Regions from separate parts of the Homo sapiens genome. Here region 2 is linked to region 1. The links are contacts of gene promoters, found by promoter capture Hi-C in blood cells and fetal thymus (Javierre and others, 2016). All regions are on one chromosome and are shown on one strand. The core of a region is centred on a gene start or on the middle of the fragment in contact, and the rest is flanking DNA. Distances in the headings are between cores, read along the strand shown.

Evidence for each region. The method cuts DNA at HindIII sites, captures the fragments that hold promoters and counts their contacts. A CHiCAGO score of 5 or more calls a contact.
Region 2: a fragment that was not itself captured here is called in contact with the fragment with the promoter of TELO2 in region 1 in 2 of 17 cell types (M1 macrophages and megakaryocytes); the score reaches 6.2 in M1 macrophages.

What each region holds. Positions count from the first base shown.
Region 1 is chr16:1,490,250-1,496,539 of GRCh38, reverse strand. It overlaps TELO2 (telomere maintenance 2), which reads right to left and starts at 3,180. Exons shown (of 21, transcript NM_016111.4): 1 at 2,935-3,180; 2 at 1,924-2,294; 3 at 917-1,194. The coding sequence starts at 2,258. RefSeq lists enhancers at 1-672, 673-1,573, 2,475-3,375, 3,473-3,522 and silencers at 2,743-2,942, 2,953-3,002, 3,173-3,262. The HindIII fragment of the contact is 10,177 bases long and covers 1-6,290 here.
Region 2 is chr16:1,569,039-1,575,328 of GRCh38, reverse strand. IFT140 (intraflagellar transport 140) reads left to right here. Exons shown (of 31, transcript NM_014714.4): 14 at 3,795-3,922. Among named protein-coding and RNA genes, the nearest start is that of TMEM204, 39 kb to the right of the region's middle. The HindIII fragment of the contact is 263 bases long and covers 3,907-4,169 here.

The sequences.
Region 1 (6,290 bases), core at 1,931-4,430:
GGGACCAGGACGGCCCCAGCCAACCCCGAACACGTGAAAAAGCCGCATTCCACATGTGTCCGAGATGTTCCCAAAGCCTCCTTAATACATGGGCCCATGCACAGCAGCAGCTGCAAGCCTAGGGCTACGTTCGGAAAAGACAGGAGGGGCTCAGGAGGTTGCTGCAGGAACCCCCAGGTGAGGCGAGGGGGCTTGGGCCACACAGGCCCCACGCAGGGACTCGAGGGGCCCGGCTTCCTCCTGGGCTCTGAGGGGGCGCCGAGCTGCTCCAGGACCCCAGGGTGCCCCTGAGCGAGGGAGGGAGTTTCAGAACGAGGTCGGGGCAGCATGTGGAGGGTGGAGTCCGGACCCAGGTGCTCGACCTGCGTCTGAGCTGTCGCCTGGAGCTCGGGAAAGGCAAGAGAAGGAAGGGGTCACCCTGCAGGGAGAGGCAGACGCTCCGGGTGCTGTGCAGGCCCCCGGCCCAGCCTCCTTCTCGCTAGTGAAACGCACACTCGCGGCAGCCGCCATCTGGCGCCCCAGGGAAAACAGAGCGAGCATGGGCGCTCACGGGGCCCTGCAGCCCAGCAGCGGGCAAGGCCGTTCCCACAGCACCCCCTCTCCAGGGCACCGCCAGCGTCTGCCTCCAGACCTGAGAACCTCGAGATCCCCCACCTGGCCACCACAGCACAGTTGGGCCCTGGAAACCCAAGGGACTGCAGGGACAAGAGAAGCCCGCGTGGAGGGCAGCGGACTTCAGCCCACAGCGGATGAGCCCTGCCGGTCACTACTGTGCGGGACAGGGACATCCCCACCTGCCTGACGGCATCAACCAGAGACTCCAAAGTCTCCAGAGGCCGTGAGGCACCAGAGGGTGGCAGGGGACGAGGACCCAAGAAGACGGGTGGCAAAGGGGGTCCCCGAGGCAGGGCCTCACCTTGGAGAGAGTCCACAACCGCCTGCAGCACCCGGACGACCTCCTCGCCGAGCAGGCGGAAGTAGTTCTGGGGGAAGAACTCGGCCAAGTTCTCCTGCTGCAGGCGGTTGCCCAGGTGATCGGGCAGGGCCACCACCTTGCCCAGCAGCGTCTCCCGGAGCAGGATGAAGCCGGGCTGCGTCTGCTGCCGACACTGCGCCTCCATCAGCACTGCCAGCCGGCCCTCGCGCAGGAATCTGGCCAGCAGCCGCGCCATCTTCATCAGCCGGAAGCTGGGGCTGAAGATACGGGCGTGTTGGGCAGAGCCGCCAACCCCCATCCTCGGGGCCCCCTTCCTGCCACAAGGAACCAGCAGCCCGGATTACACGGGCAGCCCCAACAACATAACCAGCGTGAAGTCCAAAACCACAAGCCGGATGGGAAAATCTGTTAATCCATTCCTAAATAACTGCGATTACTGTGTGAGAGCTCTCGGGGCCCTGAGCGGCTTCCCCAACCTGGAGTCTCACTGGACACCCCTCCCCTGCTGCTGACGCGGATAACTCAGTGCTTGCTTTGATCACAGCAACCTCTGAAAACCCAGCTTCTCAAGATGCAGTGTCCCGGCAAGGACTGCAGTGTGATCTGAGGCTGAGCCTGGGAGCCGGCTGGGGCTGGGAGTCCACATGGGACACGTGTCAGTGATGACAGCTGTGCTTCCCTGGAAAACCTGGAACGTCCCCAGCTGACGGGCTGCCTCTGCCGCCTGGGATGTGAACACTCCCACCCCATCCCTCTCTGACACAGCCGGACGGGGAGCAAGTGGGGGACTTTGTGAGACACAGCAGGTGCCTCCCGTCGCAAAGGAGACAGACACAGACCGCTTCTTCTGTTCAGGGGTTCAGCCAGGAGCAGGCTCTCTCTCTAGCCCCTCACAGGGACTAGAGAGGCTCTTGGTCCAGTCCTTCAAGCCACTCTCATCACTTCTGAGGCTACCGGCAACCCCAGGATGGGCCCAGCCCACTCACCCCGCAGCACCCTCGATGGTCTCCATCAACACCAGGAAGGCTTGGTCCGCCGGGCCCTCCAGGAAGAAGCTGGCCCACAGCTCCTCCAGGCGGCCATGGGGCAGCAGCTCCAGCCAGGCTGGGCTCAGCCTGCTGGCAAGACATCTGAGGACAGGCGAGAAGTGGGCCGAGGCAAACTCCTCCTTCTCCCTCGGGAGCGCTGGAGGCTCCATCTCACCGAGATACCGCTTCAGGGACTCCAGGGTGCAGAAGATGTGGCCGCCATCCTCCGAAGACGAGAGGGCATGAATGGCTTCCCGGACGGCGAGTCGAACCTCTGAGGGTGCTGGCTCCATCCTGCAGGACAGATCTGGGCGTCACGGGAAGACGACCTGTGACATGGACACAGGGCTCAGCTTGGGGCACGGAAATAATCCACACAAGCTCAGGAAGCCCCTCGGTGAGCGCCCCGAGACCCCACACCCCTCAACCCTGGTCCCACCCAACCCTGTCCCGCCTCCTTCCCCTCCAGTGCCTGCCGGTTTCCACCCAGAGTTCGCTCCTCCGCTCGGACCCCAACGCTACCAGCCACTGCAGGGCTTCTCAACCCGGGCCACTGTGCCCAGGGAACATTCTCAGTTGTCTCAACCGGGAGTGCCACTGGCGCGAGAGGGAGGTGGAGGCTAGAGATGCTGGTGAGTGTTCCCCGGGCACAGCGCGGCCCCACGCGTCCTCGCACCCAAGGCGGGAAACTCGGCCCGCGGGAGCTGCCGGCCCTCCCGGCTCCCTGAGCGGTGAGAGGTGGCTCCAGTCGCCATTCCTCCGCCCCTTAGAAACCAACAGCTTACGGGGAACACGGGTTCGGGGCTAGAGGAGCCGCACGCGGACCCGCCCCCGATCCAGGCCCGGACCCCGACCTGTACCCGGACCCCGACCGGACTCCTACCCGACCTGGACCCGACCCAACCAGACCTGGAGCCCAACCCGACCCAACCGGACCCCCGATCCCCGATCCCCGACCCCCAACCCGACCTGGACCCGGCTCCCGGGTGACTGCAGCGCGCTCAGGCGCCGCGCGCCACCGATTCGCTGCAGCCGATTCCCCACGGCCGCCGCGGCCCCGGACGAAACGCGATCGCGGCCCAGCCGGTTGGCCCCGAGCACGAGTTCCTGGGTCCGGGCGAGGCTCCCGCGGGTTTTCTTGAGCCTCTGGGGCGGGTCTCCGCGGGCCTCTCAGCGCGAATCTGCGGAGGACGCCAGGCGGGAGGGCGCATCTGCGCCTGCGCTGCGCGGGGACGGGGCGGAGCCTGGACGCGGGAGCGGGGGGCGGTGGGGTGGGCGGGGCCTGACGCGTGAGTGGGGCGGGGCCTGAGGGCAGGGCCGCGCTTCCCCACGTGGCTGCGAGCTGGGTTCGCTGCGCCCGGGTGGTGGGTTCTCGCCTTAGTTTCTCCCATCTCGGTCGTCCCTACCCTGGAGTGATGTCAGCCGTCTCTTCCCTCCGCCTCGGGTCCCACATTCTCTCCAGAACGCCGAGCGTTCGCTCTAAGGCAGATGTTTACCAAGACAGGCCTGGCTCGTCTTCCCCGGATGTAAGGCTCTGCTTTCAAGGGTCAGAGGCCAGTAAGGGAAACGCACGGTACACAAGGAAGTAAAAGAGCAGTTGAGATCATGTCAGATCTGAACAATTGCAGCTCCGTAAATGAGGCCGGGTCGTGGAATAAAAACTGCGACCAGTAGGGTAAGCGCTAGACGCATGTGGCTCTGTAAATTAACTGAAGTTAAATAAGTCCAGTTCCCTTGCAGCACTAGCCCCATCTCAAGGGCTCGGTACTACCTTTGGCTGTGGCCGCCAGGCTGGACAGCCGGACACTGAACATTTACAACATGCAGTGCCTTCTGTACACCGCAGCGGAGTGTGGGGGGCTTCATCTTTGTGGAGGGGGCAATCCAGGAAGACACCTAAAGAGGCGCCATTTCAGCAGTGATGGATGTGGGAAAAGCTGGGGAACAGTTATCCATTCAACAAACATTGATTAAATGCCTGCTTGGTGCACCAAGCCTTCTGAGCAACAAATGATGCAAAGTTCCTGCTCACCTATCGGGGGAACAGATAAAGTACATACGAAATATGCCAGGTGACAGGCCTCGAGCAGAAAAACTGGCAGAGGCCGGGCCCGGTGGCTCACGCCGGTAATTCCAGCACTGGGAAGCTGAGGTGGGAGAATCGTTTGCACCCAGAAGTTCAAGAATGGGAAAAATAGTGAGACCCTGTCTCTACAAAAAATTTAAAAATTAGCCAGGCACGGTGTCATGAGCCTGTGATCCCAGCTACTCAGGAGGCTGAGGTGGGAGGATGGCTTGAGCCCGGGAGGTTGAGGCTGCAGTGAGCCATGTTCACTGCCACTGCACTCCAGCCTGGACAACAGAGCAAGACCCTGTTTCAAAAAAAAAAAAGGAATCAAAATAAAAAACCGGTAGGGTAAGAAAATAAGAGCCAGTGGCCGGGCACAGTGGTTCACACCTCTAATCCCAGCACTTAGGGAGGCCGAGACGGGTGGGTCACAAGCTCAGGAGTTCGAGACCAGCCTGGCCAACATGGTGAAACCCCGTCTCTCCTAAAAAAAGAATAATAATAATAATAATAGTAATACAAAAATTAGTTGGGCGTGGTGGCATGTGTCTGTGATCCCAGCTACTTGGGAGGCTGAGGCAGGAGAATTGCTTGAACCCAGGAGGCAGAGGTTGCAATGAGTGGAGATTGTGCCATTGAACTCCAGCCTGGGTGACAGAGCGAGACTCCTCCAAAAAAAAAAAAAAAGAAAAGAGCCAGAGAGCAGTGGGTGCTGTCTTACGTAAGGTGAGAGCTCTGAACAGAACACCTTAGAGCAGAGCCCTGAATGTGTTGACAGCCAGGGAAGAGTCTCACTGGCAGGAAAACGGCAGGTGCAAAGGCCTGAGGCCGCAACTGTTGCCCGGGAGGTGGAGCCGAGGGAGGCATATGCAGGGGTGAGGCCTGGAGGGAGTGAGGCAGTGGGCCAGGCCACAGAAGGCCCTCGCAGGGACTAAGATTTTGCTTGTGTGGCAGGCATCTCCTGGAGCCATTGAAGGCACGGGTCCATGCTGGTGCAGTTAGGAGAGCAGACGGTAGGGGGGCGACACGGACGAGGGGACTAGGTGGCCATTGTGAGGATGAGCTTGGGGCGGAATGGGGGTGTAGAGAAGCAGCTGAACTCAGGGCATGTCTCTGCAGGCAGAGCTGATGGATGGGATATGGGGCAGGCAGCATCCCATCATCCCGGAAACTCCTCCTCCGTCCGCTGCTGGGTTCCAGCCCTCGCCAGTGCCCACGGCAGCTCCGTCCTTCCCTATTCCCTTCTTTTCCTGAAGCCCCGCATCCAACAGTGGGTGCTTGGAGGACAAATTTCTCAAGCCTTTGTGTGTCTGAAAATGTCTTTATTCTTTGCTCTGTCACCCAGGCTGGAGTGTAGTGGCGCGATTTCAGCTCACTGCAACCTCCTTCTCCCCGGCTCAGGCGATCCTCCCGCCTTAGCCTTCCAAGTAGCTGGGACTGCAGGTGCACACCACCACGTCTGGCTGATTTTTGTAATTTTAGTAGAGACGGGGTTTTGCCATGTTGCCCAGCCTGGTCTCGATCTCCTGGACTCAAGTGATCTGCCCACCTTGACCTCACAAAGTGCTGGGATTACAGGAGAGAGCCACCACACCCTGCCCCGACCCACAACTTTAAATGGAAATCAGGCAGGCTCAGTGGCTCACGCCAGTAAACCCAGCACTTTGGCTAGGCTGAGCTGGGAGGATTGCTTGAGCCCAGGAGTGTTTGAGAACAGCCTGGCAACATAGCAAGACCCTTCTCTACCGAAATAAAATAAATACATAAATAAATGGAACTCACTGTCAGTTGGAAGCTGCGAGATCCGCCGCTCTGTGTGTGGCACCAGCGTCGCTGTCCTGGTGGCTGCCAGTCCCCCGGGGCCTAAGGCCCCAACCCCGTCCATGTGCCCAGGATGTTCTCTCCGATGCTTTCTGCATCTTCTCCATGTCCATGGTGTTCTGACGCTTGACAAGGGGAGCCTGGGGGCCACCGATGGTTTCCTGGCCTGGCACCCTCTTGGCTCATGCCACCTTGGGAATGATGGATGCCCCCAGTGGGACAACTTTGTGGATGATCTTATTCCCATGAGCTGGGCGGCTTGAAACAACAGAAATGAGTCCTATCACAGTTCTGGGGGCTGGAAGTCTTGAAGTGAAGGTGCACACTCCCTCGAAGGCTCTGGGCTGGGGGTTCCCACTTTACCTCTTCCAGCTTCTGGGGCCTCTGGGGGTTCCTCGTGGCAGCGTCACCCCAGTCTCTGCCCCATCTTCACAGG
Region 2 (6,290 bases), core at 2,789-5,288, 78 kb before region 1:
ATCATAGCTCACTGCAGCCTCAAACTCCTGGGGTCAATTCATCCTCCTGCCTCAGCCTCCCAAGTAGCTGGGACCACAGGTGCCAATCACCATGCCTGGCTAATTTTGTTATTATTATTATTATATTTTTGTAGACATGGGGTCTCACTATGTTGCCCAGGCTGGTCTTGAACCAAGCTGAAGTGACCCTCCTGCCTCAGCCTCCCAAAGTGTTGGGATTAGAGGTGTGAGCCACCATGCCTGGCCACTAATTTATTAAGTTACAAAAGGAATACATGTCAGTTGTAACTAGTAAGGTGGCTCTGGCGTGAGTAAGGGTGGGTTAGTGATCCCTCATGACCCTTCTTGGACACCCAGCATGTCCTTCCAGGTCACTATCCCTCCTCAGGATGCAGATGCATGGCTGCTGTTAGTGTTTGTGTCAGGGACGCAGTGACTACAGACACTTAGGAGCTTCCAGTCCTTAAAAGGACAGCTTCCTAGGCCAGAACTTTGGGGCCCCAGCCCTGCGTATGTTTCAGGGAGTCACATCTGCCCCATGGAGAACCTGAGGGAGGGGCCTCCCATGCAAAGGTCAAGTGCCATGGAAGGGGGTGGGATATGGGACCAGTTGGTGGTGGGAGGTGGGAAGGGAGGCAGGAGGGCTGGTCACCCTGAGGGCAGTTGGGGTTGAAGCTAGGAGTGACAGGGTACATTTTGTTGACCAAAAAGAGACTGAAGCACAAAATGTGATTTAAACAGTCTACTTGGCTGGGCATGGTGGCTCATGACGGTAATCCCAGCACTTTGGGAGGCCCAGGTGGGAGGATTGCTTTAGCCCAGGAGTTCCAGACCAGCCTGGGCAACATAGTGAGACCTCGTCTCTGCAAAAAAATACAAAAATATTAGCCAGGCATGGTGGCAAACCTATGGTCCCAGCTACTTGGGAGGCTTAGGTGGGACAATTACCTGAGCCTAGGGAGGTTGAGGTTGTAGTGAGCTGTGGTTGTACAACTACACTCCAGCCTGGGCAACAGAGTGAGACACTGTCTCAAAAATAAATAAGTAATTAAGTGAGTAGTCTACCTGAGCCAGGATAAAGGCAGCTGCCCAGAAAACTCAGCCCCGAGGAACACTGGGCCTGGGCTCCATTTTACGTTTGTTACAGGCAGGTTTTTAAGGCCGAAAAGAGGGACCGGGCACAGGCTAATGTCAGGTTGTTGGTCAGGAATCCTCTTTGGTTGATGGAAATGCCATTGATTAGCAATGGGCTGAGCATTGGTGCAGGTATGGTCTGCGGCAGCTTATCAGGTTAGTTCTCAGCTACCTGTGGCGGCAGCAGGCAGTTTCCAGAGAAGAACACAGCTCAAGGGAGAGCAGGGCGTGGCTGCTGCCTCATTTAAGGTCTCTGGGGGCCTGATCCCTGAAAAGGACTTACCTTCCTCTGATAACAGTTCTTTCCTTTCCCCAATTTTGACTTATTTTCTTGGCTTTGTGTTATTTTCTCCCTAGAAAGTAACTTCTGTGCCAGCGTAGTGGGGAGCCAAGCTTAAGGGTGGAGAAGAGTGAAGTTGTGGGAGACGCCGCAGGAGAGCAGCTCAGCCTGGCCCCAGGCAGCAGCCACCAGCAGAGCTGGAGTGGAGGGGCACTGTGGCTCTTATAAGGGGGGTGACTAGTTGCATGATGGGTGGCTACAGAGAGTATAGAACTGAGGATGTTCTGAGTTTTCTAGCCTGAGAGGTTGGGTTTGTCGTGGCACCTTTAAGACAGGAACTCCAGAGGCAGAGCTGGCATAGGGGGCAGGGCAGGATGCAAGTTCGAGTTCGTGGTGCCTTGGAGAGCCCTTAGGGGTGTCTAAGAGACAGTTGGAAATACAAGCTCTGGAGGTCAGGAGCTGGGTCAGTGCCCTGAAGACAGTACTTTGGGAGTTGGGAATGTATTGACATAGAGATGTTAAAGAATGTAAAAGAGTTGAGCTCAGATCTGAACCCGGGACCCAGCAGGTAAGGGGCAGGGCAGGGAGTGAGCTCACCGAGGAGCCTCCAGTGCTCTCTGTCATCATTAATAGTGTCAGCCCTGGCCCCATCAGCTAGTCCGCTCCCCCTGCTCTTTTTATCCTGTGTTCAAGCAGCCACTTGCTCATTCCATAAGCATTTATTAGGCTCCCACTGGATACATCAAAATGAAGTGAGCTTCCTCAGCTTGGAATACTCCCACCCTGACTCCAGCCATCCGTCCCTCACCCTCAGTTTCCTAAACACACTGTGCAGGCTCCTGCCCCTTTGCTGGCTTTTGGAGTCTGTGTTTAGATTTCCGTGCCCACTAAGTTCTCCTGGAGCTCTGCCCACCTTCCAGCCTGCCTTGCCACTCAGATTCTGTGCAGCTCCCATGCACTAGATCTGTGCCTTCCCTGCTGCCTGTCTTGGCCCCAGGATGCATTCAGCCGTTCGCATCTGACTCGCTGCCCCCACGTGGAGTGCCCTGGGGATGTGCCACTCACTTGTGATGCTCCTCCCCCAACCCACTGCTGGGCAGGGTGTAGGCATTCACTGGGCATTGGTTGAATTGAGCCAAGAGCTTCGCTTTGAAACTCAGAGGATTAAGGTTAGTCCCTAAAAGACACACCACAAAGCATGAGGTCTGCTCCAGCGCAACTGTGGGGTGACTGTGGGGTATATGCTTTCTTTTTTGTTGTTGTTTCTTTGAGATGGAGTCTTGCTCTGTCGCCCAGGCTGGAGTGCAGTGGCATGTTCTCGGCTCACTGCAAGCTCCACCTCCCGGGTCCACACCATTCTCCTGCCTCAGCCTCCCGAGTAGCTGGGACTACAGGCACCCACCGCCACACCCGGCTAATTTTTTGTATTTTTAGTAGAGACGGGGTTTCACCGTGTTAGCCTGGATGGTCTCGATCTCCTGACCTCATGATCCACGCGCCTTGGCCTCCCAAAGTGCTGGGATTACAGGCGTGAGCCACCGCGCCCGGCCTGTGGGGCATGCTTTCTAACGTGCCGACTGTGGGACGTGCTTTCTAACATGCTGGAAAGGCCAAGGTGATGCTTTGAAAATATAAATGATGCGAAATCACTTCCCAGCTCAAAACCCTGCAGTCTTCCAGTTTCACTTAGAAGGAAATCTCACTCTTCCCCTCAGCCTGCAGGAACGCCCCTGTGGCCTCTGCCCACCTGGCTGACTTCTTAAACATTTTACTGAAATACCCACACACTTAGAAAGAGTGGGTGCGTCGTGCCTAAGCGTACGGTGCAGGGGCTTTTCGCGGGTGGGACATTGCCAGCATGTAACTAGCATCCTTCCTCTCCCCCACCGCCTCACCCAGGGTAACCATTCACGTGACACAACGTAACAAGTATTCCTGCGGCTTTCACATGACAGGGCCTCCACAGACAGGGCCCCCCAGAGCTCCCCAGTGGATGGAATTCGCCCTCTCTCCGTGCCTGGCACTTTCCTGAGATCCCATTCTTTACCTACATGGCACTTACTCAGCTGAGATTACATATGTATTTGTTTGTCGACCGCACTGCTGTCTGTTTTCCCCTCTAGACTGGAGGCACCAGAGCTCTCCTGAGGACAGGGCCCCGTCCTTCCCCCGCAGCACTAGAGTCCAGCAGAGTGCTGGGCACACTCTGAGCCGTCAGTAAACACTGAGCGAGTGAATGAGTGGAGTGTACAAGGTTATCTGTGAACAATGTTCAGTAACTCACATGAAATATATCCATTTCTTGTGTGTACAAGGTTATCTGTGAACAATGTTCAGTAACTAACATGAAATATATCCATTTCTTGTTCCTTTTCCTCAGGGGACTGTCAAACAACTCCTCCTTTTCTCGGAGACTGAGGGGAATCCCTGCTTCTTGGACATCTGTGGGAATTTCCTGGTTGTAGGGACAGACTTGGCTCACTTTAAAAGCTTTGATCTTTCCCGAAGGTAAATTTTTTTTCCAAATAGAAGTGTGAACATTTTTTTAGTCAGTCAGGAGACAGTGTGATGGGTAGAAAGTGAGTTAGAAGCCAGAAGACTCCTTAGGTGCCCATTTTAACACCGACATGCCACTTGTGCTCTCGAATGCCTCATGTTGGGGCTCAGTTCCTGGCCTTTGCCTGGTGGTGGAGCCGTGTCGGGGAGAGGAGGCTTGAATAGTTGAAGCACAGGGAGTGGTGAGGGTGGGGAAGCTTCTATATGATGAGTGCATGACATTGTACATTTGTTGGAAATCATAGCGCTTTATGGTGCAAAGTGTGAACCTTAATGTATACAAATGTTTAAAAAATCATTCAGGCTGGGCAGGGTAGCTCACACCTGTATTTCCAGCACTTTGGGAGGCCAAGGCGAGAAGACTGCTTGAGCCCAGGAGTTTGAGACCAACCTGGGCAACATAGCAAAACCCTGTCTCTACAAAAACTTTTAAAAATTAGCTGGGCATGGTGGCACGTACCTGTAGTCCCACCTGCTTGGGAGGCTGAGGTGGGAGGATTGCTTGAGCCTCGGAGATCGAGGTTGCGGTGAGCTGTGGTTGTGCCACTGCACTCCAGCCTGGGCCACAGAGTGAGACCCTGTCTCAAAAAAATCACTTAGAATGTTAGAGGACCCCAGGACGGAACACAGAAGGTAACAAAACAGTCTCACTGTGTTACCAAATGTATGAAACAGCTTCACTAAAGGGTGTGGGGGGAAAGTGCTGACCTAAGTGGCTCTGGGAGTGAGGGGAGGCCCTGGCGAGCACTTAGGCCGAAGGAACTGCACAGGAGCTCGGCTCTCTAGTGGAGAATTCTGCTCCCCACAGGGGTTGGGATGAGCAACGCTGATCCTGTGATGCGTGTGCACTGGAATTGGACAGCTGAGCAAATGGAGGGTAGATGGCAGGAGCCTGGCATCGCGTGGTGGGAGTGGGAGTGGGAGTTACAGATTAGCAAGTGGAGGGACTAGAATAGGCCCTGGGAGAGTGGATCAGAGGTAGAGGTGTCAGCATGAACAAATCCCTGGCTTCATGTAGGTAGGGATGACTCCATACACAGAATCGTAGGTCTGTATCAATGTACCCGTTGGTACACACATATTTCCTCACTCTGTCAGCTGAGAGGGCCTAGAAGCAACAACCCTGTCCCAGCAGGCACACCTGGTGCCCAGACCTTGGTTTCTACCACCATCCTCCAATAAAGGAGCTATGGATCCTTGGAGAGATGCTGACTCTAGGACCAGGACAGGAAATGTACAAATGAGCTGGCAGCATCTGTGCTGCCCGAAAGTGAGGAAGTGCTAAAAACAAAGCAAACCAAAAAACCTCATAAAGATGGCAGGGTGGGGGTCACAGAGACACAGACCCCACCAAAAGAGGTCCTAATAGCCAAAGCTGGAATAATTGGAGCAACAAAATAAATAAAGCAGGCCAGATGCGGTGGCTCATGCCTGTAGTCCCAGCATTTTATTTATTTATTATTTTTTTTTTTTCTGGGTGGCCCATTTCATCCTGCAAGTCCCAGCACATTGGGAGGCCAAGAGAGGTGGATTGCTTAGGCCCAGGAGTTCAAGACCAGCCTGGGCAGCATGGTGAAACCCAATTTCTTAAAAAAAAAAAATTAGCCAGGCATGGTGACTTGCATCTATAGTACCAGTTACTCAGGTGGCTGAGGCAGGAGGATCACTTGAGCCCAGGAGGTCAAGGCTGCAGTGAGCCAAGATCACACCACTGCACTACAGCCTGGGCGACAGAGTGAGAGATCCTGTCTCAGAGAGAGAGAGGGAGAGAGAAAAGGAAGGGGAGGGGAGGGAGAGGAGGGGAGTGGAGGGAAAAGACAAAAAGAGAGAAAGAAAGAAAGAAAAAAGGGAAAGAAGGGAGGGAGGGAGGAGGGAAAGAAGGAAGGAGAGAAGGGAAGGGAGGGGAGGGAAGGGAAGAGGGAGGGAGGGAGGAAGGAAAGAAGCTTGAATTATATACCAAAGTAAAAAAATGACTAGTGTGAGTCCGAATGATATGAGTAAGTCAATAAATAGAGGAGAAGAGACAGGTGTCCCATAGAAAAGAATTCCACGGCCGAGCGCGGTGGCTCACGCCTGTAATCCCAACACTTTGGGAGGCTGAGGCGGGCGGATCACGAGGTCAAGGAGATCGAGACCATCTTGGCTAACACGGTGAAACCCCGTCTCTACTAAAAATACAAAAATAAATTAGCCGGGCGCGGTGGCGGGCGCCTGTAGGCCCAGCTACTCGGGAGGCTGAGGCAGGAGAATGGCGTGAACCCGGGAGGCGGAGCTTGCAGTGAGCCGAGATGGCGCCACTGCACTCCAGCCTGGGCAACAG